Regions from separate parts of the Homo sapiens genome. Here region 2 is linked to region 1. The links are contacts of gene promoters, found by promoter capture Hi-C in blood cells and fetal thymus (Javierre and others, 2016). All regions are on one chromosome and are shown on one strand. Each heading gives the region's core, a stretch centred on a gene start or on the middle of the fragment in contact. The rest is flanking DNA. Distances are from core to core; before and after follow the strand shown.

Evidence for each region. The method cuts DNA at HindIII sites, captures the fragments that hold promoters and counts their contacts. A CHiCAGO score of 5 or more calls a contact.
Region 2: a fragment that was not itself captured here is called in contact with the fragment with the promoter of DDX3X in region 1 in 1 of 17 cell types (fetal thymus); the score reaches 9.2 in fetal thymus.

What each region holds. Positions count from the first base shown.
Region 1 is chrX:41,330,806-41,335,707 of GRCh38, reverse strand. DDX3X (DEAD-box helicase 3 X-linked) reads right to left here and starts at 1,546. Exons shown (of 17, transcript NM_001356.5): 1 at 1,411-1,546. The coding sequence starts at 1,455. RefSeq lists an enhancer at 1,916-2,145 and a silencer at 2,236-2,725. The HindIII fragment of the contact is 5,677 bases long and covers 1-4,317 here.
Region 2 is chrX:44,874,029-44,878,930 of GRCh38, reverse strand. The region is part of intron 2 of KDM6A (lysine demethylase 6A); the gene reads right to left. Among named protein-coding and RNA genes, the nearest start is that of KDM6A, 3.3 kb to the right of the region's middle. RefSeq lists silencers at 4,744-4,843, 4,854-4,902. The HindIII fragment of the contact is 1,114 bases long and covers 2,890-4,003 here.

The DNA of each region.
Region 1 (4,902 bases), core at 297-2,796:
AAAATATTACATATGACTACATTAAACTATGTATTCAATTAATTTGTGCCACTAAACTTCGTCTCAGGATTATTCCGGAGTTTGTGAAATCAACGCTCCCCTAATCACAGTAGACAGTAGTTTATTTAAAAGCTCCGCATAACCCACACAAGAGCTTATCTGAAGCCTGGTGCCACTGTTGCGGTGGGATGCAGACTTCCTGCCACCAAAGTCCATAACCTTCTCCTCTCAAATCACACATCTTTCTCTCCTCTGCCCCTAAACCCTTAGAAGAGGGGATTCTGGCTAAGAGAAAAAACCCGGGGGCCTGGGACCCATTGCAAGATTCTACTCCACAGATAGCAACAAGTCAACAACAAAACTGTTTACTTCCCCCCTAAGCCGGGTGTTTTTCCAATGGCGGATTCCTGGATCACAGTCACTAACACGAAGACACTACCACAACCCGCGATGACCCCTCCACCCCAGAAAAACAACGCGGGACTCCCGGCTAACATACCACACAGGGACAATCTGGGGCAAGCAAGGAGGAGAAAGGGCCTCGCTGGCTCCCTAACCTCCCCGCCACGTCCAACCTCTATCTCCAGGGCCCAGCGCGCAGCGGCCAATTCCTGCCTCCCCTCCCCGCCCCCACCCCTCCCCCACTCCTCCCCAATCTTCTGCGTCACAAAACTTTCCACTCCGGAAACGCAGCCTCCCCGGCTGCGGCGCAGGGCCCCCGGACCCTGCGGAACCTGGGCTGAAGCGAAAAAGCCAGCGGAAGGAACCCGGGAAAAAACAAGAAACCCATTCCATCCTCCTTTCCAGGCCTTCGCCCGCCCGAGACCCGCCGTCTCCCGGAGGTGAGCCACAGCGCCGCCCAGCACCACACAAAAGAGGCCGCCGCCATTACCCCGAGCGAAGGCCGCCCCCTCCCACATTCCTGGGCCGCGTTCTACCCCTTGCTCGCAGGCACGCAAACACCGGGTGCCGCCAGGTCCTCCGGACGGGAATCCAGGCTGCGCCAGCCGTGAAGGCCGAAGCCCTCCAAGCCAAAAGGGCCTCCAGTCGCGTCCCGCCGCGCTGCGCACTCCCGCAAACCCCCCCAGGTCACTAATCAGTCGGGATTCGCGCATGCGCGTCCCCGCGAGAGCGCGCGCACTTCCTCCCCCTCCGCCCGCCTGCGCACGCACACACAAAAGCCGCCATTGTGCTCGTCCCGGGGACAATACAGCGGGCCGAGACCGGGCCCGGGCGACAGCCCCAACCAACATTCCTATCCCTCTATAGCCCCGGGGCACTCACACCCGCCAGCCCGGGGCACCCAGAAAATGAAAAGTAAGGGTGCCGGTTAGCGCTGCGCCATTAGCCAGGTTAGGTCAGGGGAGGAATTCACGCAGCAGCCAGCCCGGTGGGGTTCTTGCGGCTCACCTGCTGGTCCAGCCCGAGCGCATTTTCCACTGCCACATGACTCATCCCTGAAGAGTACCGAGAACTCGGAGTCTTCCGCTGCTAAGCGAGTGTTTGTTCCACCGCGAAGGCCCTCTCACGGGAGAACTGCGGCTCTGGAGCGCACCGCGCGGCCACGGATCTAATATACCCGCTGGAAAGCCGGCTACGTCAGCACGTACAACGTGTGCCCTCCCTCTCACACCGCAATTCCCTGTCGCGGCGACTTCTGCCCGGCTACTGCGCGCTCCCTCAGGTCTAAGCTCAAGGGATTTCCTACTTAGTCCTGTCGCCCCTAGCAGTCCTGCCTTGGAGCTTAGGGTGCGAAATGCTGTCCCAGTTCTCTCGAGCTACACTTCCCGTGCTCTCCGCTAAAACCCTAGTCTCAGCCTCGGAGTTCTCGAGATCTCGCGAGAACTTGCGTCTCCCGCTTTCCACCGGCTAAGACGCCTGAAAATGTTAACCTAGGCCTCTTCGCCCCCCTTTCCAACCTTACGCATTCGCTCCCCTTTCCAACTCTATGCACTCAGCTTTCGTTTTTCGTTTTTTTTGTTTTTGTTTTTTTTTTCCTAACACTGGCCTTCACTCTTCTTCCTCTCTCAGTTCCCGGGCTTGGAGATGTGGTGGGATTTCTCCGGTCTAATCTGCCCTCGCTCTTCCGCGGGTAGCCTCCCCTTAGTGGGAGCTAGGCAGATTCCCGAAACTGAGAGGGCGGCAGGCCACGTGACCGTAGGTGTCGCGTGCGGTGGCCATTTTGTGAAGCAGGAAACGGTGGCTTGAATATAGAGTGCTCCGGACGGGGGAGGGGAGGGGAAGAGGAGGAGAGAACAGAGGGAAGGGGAGGAGAGGGAGGGAAAAGAGGGGAGCGGAGTAAGGGGAAAGGAGGAGGGAGGAGGGTAGGATGGTGACCGGGGCGGGAGTCGGGGGGAAATGGAGGGGAGCCGGCGGCGCGCGCAGGTGGCCGGACACCTTCCTGCGCGGTTGCCTAGGCAGCGGGGGCGCCGCCTAGAAACACACAATGGCCCCTCCTGGCCAACCCCCCGACGTGTGCGCGCGCGCCTCCGCCCCCGCCCCCCGCGGTGAGGGAACAATGAGACAGACACGCGCTGATCCGGAACCGCCGCTGGCGCGCCCTCCCGGGACCCCGGCTCTCCGCAGGAATGCGGGCTACATTTGCCCCTAGTTTCCTCCCGCGGGGCGCCCAGCGGCTTAGGGCCGGTGACCACCGGCGTTGCGGGGACCCCGCGGGTGGCGAACGGCTCTTCTAGGGCCCAAGGGTGTCGGGAATGTTTGTAGCCGGTGCAACCTGGGCCTGCCGGAGGGGCTGCAGCGGGGTTACCGGCCTGGGCTCGGGGTGACTCTCAGGCCGCTGCGGTGGATGAGGAACAGGAGGAACCGGGTTTCTACCGTCGGTGGAACCTCTTCCTGTGGTTCCCTCCTAGGCAGGCCACCCCAAGTCCCGGCTTCGGTGCCGCAGGCCCTTAAATAGAAGAAGGTGTTTACTAGTGGATTCCCGGCTTTGAGCCGGCGCCCGCACATCCGTAGTTTCTTATGACCGCTTTCCCCTCTCTTCTGACCCTCAGCCCTACGAAATTAAATAAAACGCAGTGGTTTCCACCACCCCCACAAAAGGTCTTCTGCTGCCAGAATTCAAATAGTTCGTGCTCATCACATAATTTACTATACACATAACTTCTCTCCCTTCTCAATTTTTAAAATCGAGACGGAAATTCGAACGAGATAGGGAGAGAATATCACACTGTCGGGGGCAAGTTGTTTAACGGCTTTGGGTCTCAATTTGCTCATCTATAAAAGGAGTCTGCTACATTCCATAACCCTGTGAAAGACCCAACTCCTTTTCATAACGAGTATTTTCTAACGCCCCCTTTACCTATACTGAAATAACAAAACCTAAATTGTTTATGTAAACCTACAAACACAATTTCAAAAAACATGATCTGTCAACAAACGAAAGCAAAATGATTATAATAAAACAATGTATTATAATATGTAAATGCCGCCGCACAGCTACACTAACTGGTGGGAAGACACTTGCCCAGTAGAGCCACAAATGCAAACTGGAAAGGTGTGTTGATTTCACAACTCAAGTTCCATGAGCAGCATTGCTACTAGGAACCTCATTTTCCAAAATGATGAACTATTAATAATTTTTAAATAAAACAGTACAATCTTCCTTCAATTGAAACAGTACCTGCATTTGTGGAAAATTCAGGATATATGGAAACTGGGCAAAGATACTTTGTGTTCATATGTAAAACAGTGTTAGTTCTAGGCTTAGATGATAATGAACTAGTTTTTCACCGACATGTGTCCAGTGATTCAATTATTCGCTCTGTGGGACTGACCAGCATCATAGAACATCCTAGCGTGCCTGGCTCCTGCCCACTAAATGCCAGTAGCTCTCGCCAGTCATTGTGACAACCAGAAATACACAGATTTCTACAATGCCCCTTGGAGAGCCACTAGGTTTAATGATATTAGGGTCCCTTCCTGCCCTGAGATTCGTGGATTCTCATGGAGTTTTGGTGAAGGACCTCGGTTTTGTTTCAGTTTCGTTTTCCTATGAACCAGGGTAAACATGAGTCAGGTTCGAAAACTGTGAGTTCCGACAGCTCTTCAAACTGCATATAGCAACAATGGGATGCACTGACTACCCTGGTTCTGGGCTTTGTTTTACTTTTGAGTAGAGCCGAGTACAGGGTACCGCCATGGGAGTACCTAAAAGAATTGAAATATACAGCAGTTCCCTATTTTCAATTAACCCCTGCTCATAGGCATACTTGGTTCAAACCACCAGGGTATTTTGTTAATCAATACGTTATAATTGGAATATCCAATTGGAGAGGAAGCGGGAAAACATACAAAGCTTTGTCTTTAAACACATTCACTTTGAAAAAGAATGATGTGCACACTTGAGGCAGCTAAATAAATGAGCCAACTTTCACAGCACTCCGAATGACTTTTCCGTTTAGCAACATTTGCATATTTTCTCCACATGGCAGTTATTTGCAAATTTTATTTGAAGTGACCTAAAAAAGGGTTAGAAATGGCTGAAACCAGGCCGGCCGCGGTGGCTCACGCCTGCAATCCCAGCACTTTGGGAGGCCGAGGCGGGCGGATCACGAGGTCAGGAGACTGAGACCATCCTGGCTAACACCGTGACACCCCGTCTCTAAAAAAAATACAAAAATTAGCCTGGGCGACAGAGCAAGACTCCGCCCCCCCCCAAAAAAAAAAAAGAAAGAAATGGCTGAAACCAGGGAAATTTTTTTTTGCACGCTCCCTTTCTTAATGTTTCCAGGCATTTTAACTGTTCATATTGAAGCAAATGTACTTCCTGCAACACCGCCCCCTCCCTCCACTTCCACCCCCATTCCTGGAGGTAGCGCAGTGAACCAGAGCCTGGGAATTGCAATTCCTCTAACTACCAGTTCAGCTCCCTGCTTACAGGCA
Region 2 (4,902 bases), core at 2,197-4,696, 3.5 Mb before region 1:
GGCCAACACGGTGAAACCCCACCTCTAATAAAAACACAAAAATTAGCCGGGTGTGGTGGCAGGCACCTGTAATCCCAGCTACGCAAGAGGCTGAGGCATAAGAATCACTTGAACCTGGAAGACCGAGGTTGCAGTGAGCCGAGATCACTCTACTGCACTCCAGCCTGGGGGATAGTGTGAGACTGTCTCAAATTAAAAAAAAAAACAAAAAGTATCTAGAGGTGGCAGTCAAATGCTCTCTAGTTATTTCAATTTGTAATTGATTCGACAGAAAGAACTATTTACTGAAAAAGAAAACCAGAACTTTAAAAGTGCCTGTTTATGTATTGCTGCAGTTCTAATTTGTGACCAAATATGCAAATATGTTCTATAATCTTAGTATATCTTTATTACCAGGCACAAATCAAAACTTTAGGAAATACCAAGTATATAAGACTTTGTCCACGTAAAAAATTAAGACTGCAAGTGTTCAGAAGACAATCTTCCAAACTAGAAAACTCTTTAAAACACAAAGCATGACATTATTTCCATGGCTACTTTCTTTTTTTGTTTGTTTTTGTTTTTTGAGACAGGCTCTCATGACTTTTCTAACCAAAACACTAGCCATCTTTAGCACTGGAAATGAATTTACAGGTTGAGCATCCCTAATCTGAAAATCCAAAATCTAAAACTTTTTGGGTACCAACATGACACTCAAAGGAAATGCTCATTGGAGCATTTTGGAATTCAGATTTTCAGATTAGGGATGCTCAACTGGTATGTATTCTGCAAATATTCTGAAACCCAAAAAAATCCCAAATCCAAAACACATCTGGTTCCAAGCATTTTGGATAAAGGATACTCAACCTGTATGCCTTTAAGTGCCAGCAAACAAAAAACACACATAAATGAGAATGTTTTTAATCAACATCCAAATATTACAATTTAAAAAAGCCACCTCTAGAACTGACCTAATAATTTCCCCTACCAAACACGCCAGCAAACCAAATTTAAGAAAATATGTTTCAATGGATCTTAAACTACTTCTATTATCAAAAAAATTTAAAACACCAACTGTTTTAATGCTAATATGTCCTACGGAAAAAAGCACATACATTTTTAAGTGATATACAATCTATAACTTCTAAGTATTTTGTATAATCTTTCTACTAATAGAATTACCAAAAAAATTTCCAATAAGAGTATTTAAGAAAAACTTAAAAATAAGATACTTTGTTCAAAACTGTGTATTTTAGCAATAGTTCCCTGACGCAGATAAGATTCCCCAGTCCCCTAGCATTATTACTATAACTATACTTGGTAGTACTACTATATTTAAACTTACTACATTTATGGTATATATTCGTATATATTCTACTTTAACTCAAATCCTTACCCTACTTAAAAAAAAAAAAACCCAAAAGGTTTTCAAAAATGTACTAAAAAAGTCACAAGTTAATTTCTGTTAAAATATTTTGCTTAGTTTTCGATAACTCCACTGAAATTTTAAAAATAAGAATCTTGAATTATTACATTACCAGAAGATTAAGGGTCAGCATTCAAGAGCACTGTTCAAGATCACCCTATATCACAAGAACTCTAATTACGCAGGCTCTAGCTGTTTACAACCTTAAAGACATTACCAAAAAATAATACATTGTATTAACTACCTTATTTTTTTAATCCAAAACCCCAGGCATTGTATATCAAATGGCCATCCTACAAACAAAAAATTCTTTCAATGACTCTAATATAACTGAATCTGACAAAAACATTCGGGAGACGATGAGAAATCAGTGGTTTGAATAAACTGCACACCTGGAAAAGGAATACACATATAGATATGTACATACGTATACATACGCATATGCATATATATACATATATGTGTATACGCATATACATACGTATGTATATACATGTATATATGTATACACGTATACGTGTGTATATACGTATGCGTATACGTGTATATACGTATTCATATACGTGCGTATATACGTATACGTGTGTATATGCGTATATGTATATGTGTGTATACGTATATGTATACGTGTGTATATATGTATATGTACACGTGTGTATATATGTATACGTACATATGTTAAGGGACAAGTAAGAGACATATTTAATGCTTTCAACTTTCTAAAGCTTTTAGGTCAAGAGTTTTTTTTAACATACAAATGTGAATTTTAAAAACTTGAAAGAAAATCCAATAATATACATAGGAATAAGAATTTTTGAAAACAAGTAGTAATAGCTAAATTTCTGCCAGAAAGGAAAACGTTATACAAAGTGCAGACTAAATTGGGGCCGGGGGGTTGGGGGTGGGGGGGCATGGCAGGACAAAAATCAAAGCTAAAAAGGGAATTCTGGGAGTTATTCAATTCCATTATCTGCCCTCAGGTAAGTAGCCTAAACCTGCCCAGTAAAGGAAAGCCAACTCTTAAGACTTTCAGGGAATAAGAATTCTGAAACCAACATAGCTCAACATTCCACAAAAAATAAAAATAAAAAACAAAAAAATACTGCTTCGAGGACTGTTAAAAGAAGGATGAAACTAAATAATTCAAGACTTCCTACAGCAGGACTCCAGCTCATTCACTTCATTCAGAACCCAATTCAAACAGAGGGTGCGAAGTTATATAATGTCAGGCTTTACATTACACACCCCACTGGTATGTTCAGGCTCACAAAGATGCAACCAAGAACTATATGCGGTTGCAAGCACATATTACAGAAGGTTTTATTTTAATGTTAAGGCTGATGAATCTTGTCCTAAGCAGGTAGGACACCTCACAAGCACTGAGTCTGAAGCAGTGAAGATTTTTTTTTCTTTAGTTTAACAAACTGCTTAATCGTTCATCAAATTACCCCATATATCATGAAGGCCCCAAACATAGTGAAGCTTCACTAGTTTTTCATTTTTAAGATGTATTCAAACATCAAGTAATGCACAACTTGCCAAGAATATTTGAAAATGGTTACTTTTTTAAAATTTAAACTCGTTAGTGCATAACTGCAGGGTTTAATATTACAATCCGAAATCCAATGTTAAGCACTATTCGCAGTGAATCTATATGAATATGAGCATTCTAAGACATAAAATCAACTAGCATTTTACACATTCTCAACATAAAACATCAGATTCCATTTATTTTTTCATCACCATAACCAAAAGCAATCGATTTGGCCAAACTTTTCCACGTGAATTATCTTTGCAAGCAATTTTATTAACCCATGTTAGACCAACAATAATCCCTCCAAAACAAAATAATGCTCTTTTAATTTAAATCATGTTTAATCTTTTATAATGACAACTTTGACAGCAGTCAAATATTTTTAAATAAAATACTTTAAATACTCAAATTGGAAAAAAAAAAAAAAACTTTAAGGCAGGAGACCAACAATTACTGACGCTTAAATCTTTCCAGAGCTAGTCACTGTTCATTTTTACAGCAATAATTGTAATGAAGCCAATTAATACCTACGTAGTCAAAGTTTAATTCAAGTTTTCTGTATCGGTCAAAGGGGCCGGGCTTACTGAAAAGCATTATTTCCATTTAGTTTTCTGATTATATGCAATATAACACCTTATAATTACTTTGAAATAAAAACAAATGTGTAATTACAGATAAAAAGGAATTGATGACTCTGCGAAACCAAGCTACAGACAAAAATTCAGAACAACAAAAAAATCAACTTAAGAATAAAATGTTAGACTTATTTCAAACTTGCGTCTCAACTGCAACAATAAAGCTAGGTGTCAAATGCAAAGCTATGATTTCAGCTAGAAAAGAAAATGTCTAACGGATACAACACCCATAGCACACACTCCAACTTTCACGGTCCCAATTACGAAGAAAGTATTCAAATACCATTGCAATCAGATTTTGGTCAGGAAATATAAACTGATGCATACAGATTGAGACTCCAGCCTTTGTTCAATAGCTTACAGATGGATAACTAAATGTGCTACAGGTTGATAAGCATTTACCAGGCTTATGCATGCTGCTTCCAAGCTTATGAAAGGTATAAGAATTCTATATGCAAATAATCTTGGGTAATTTTTTTTAAACACCACTGAGCTACACACTCCGAAGGAAAGGCTTATTCACGGCTACTATTTATTTCCATGTTTACCTCTACACCCTCCCCCTAACCCCCCCCTTCACTTTCTCCTCCCACCCTGTCCCGCCATCTTGGGCCGATAGGAGCAGCCATTACTTAACTAAATGACAGTGCCAACAACTTTCCACACAAATAAAAAAAGACTACACCCCGAATCCTCCCCAGCCTCCCCTGTCAGACACACAGGAAATGAGGCTCCAGGAAGAGAACACGTTTACAAATAACTACGGTATTTCTATGCCAAAAAGACCCAAAAAGTAAACAAGTCACCTAACTTCAGGTAACACACACTGCAATCGAGATACATGTCAACAGCCCAATGCAAACTCTTCACCGACCTAAACTCCGTGAAACTTCCCCCTTCTGGGAGCGGGGACACAAGAAAGCCTAAAACATTTGGTTAGCAGTAGGCATCACGAACAGCCTGCTTGAAGGAAAAGAATTTTTTTAAACCCGTAGAGGCAAGTTAAGTCCGAAATTTGGGAAAATCTGAACACACTCACGATCCCTTGACCCTAAACAGGCACCTCGAAGATCATCGGCCTACCCTCAAAAAGCTGTAAAATAGCAGGCAGTTGTGTCGACCCAGTTGAGCCCGGCCCCAAAGCGATCCCGTCTCTGTTCCTCCAGCTACAAGAGGAAAAGAGCGATTTCGCAAGGGAGCAAGCAGGGTACCCGGGGGTGGGGGGAGAGCAGAGGCAGGAAATAGTTTCCGGAAGCCCCTCGACCATCGTCCGTGGCCACAATGAGCACAGACCCGGCCGCGGGGCCCGGGGCGAGCGCGGCGCCGGC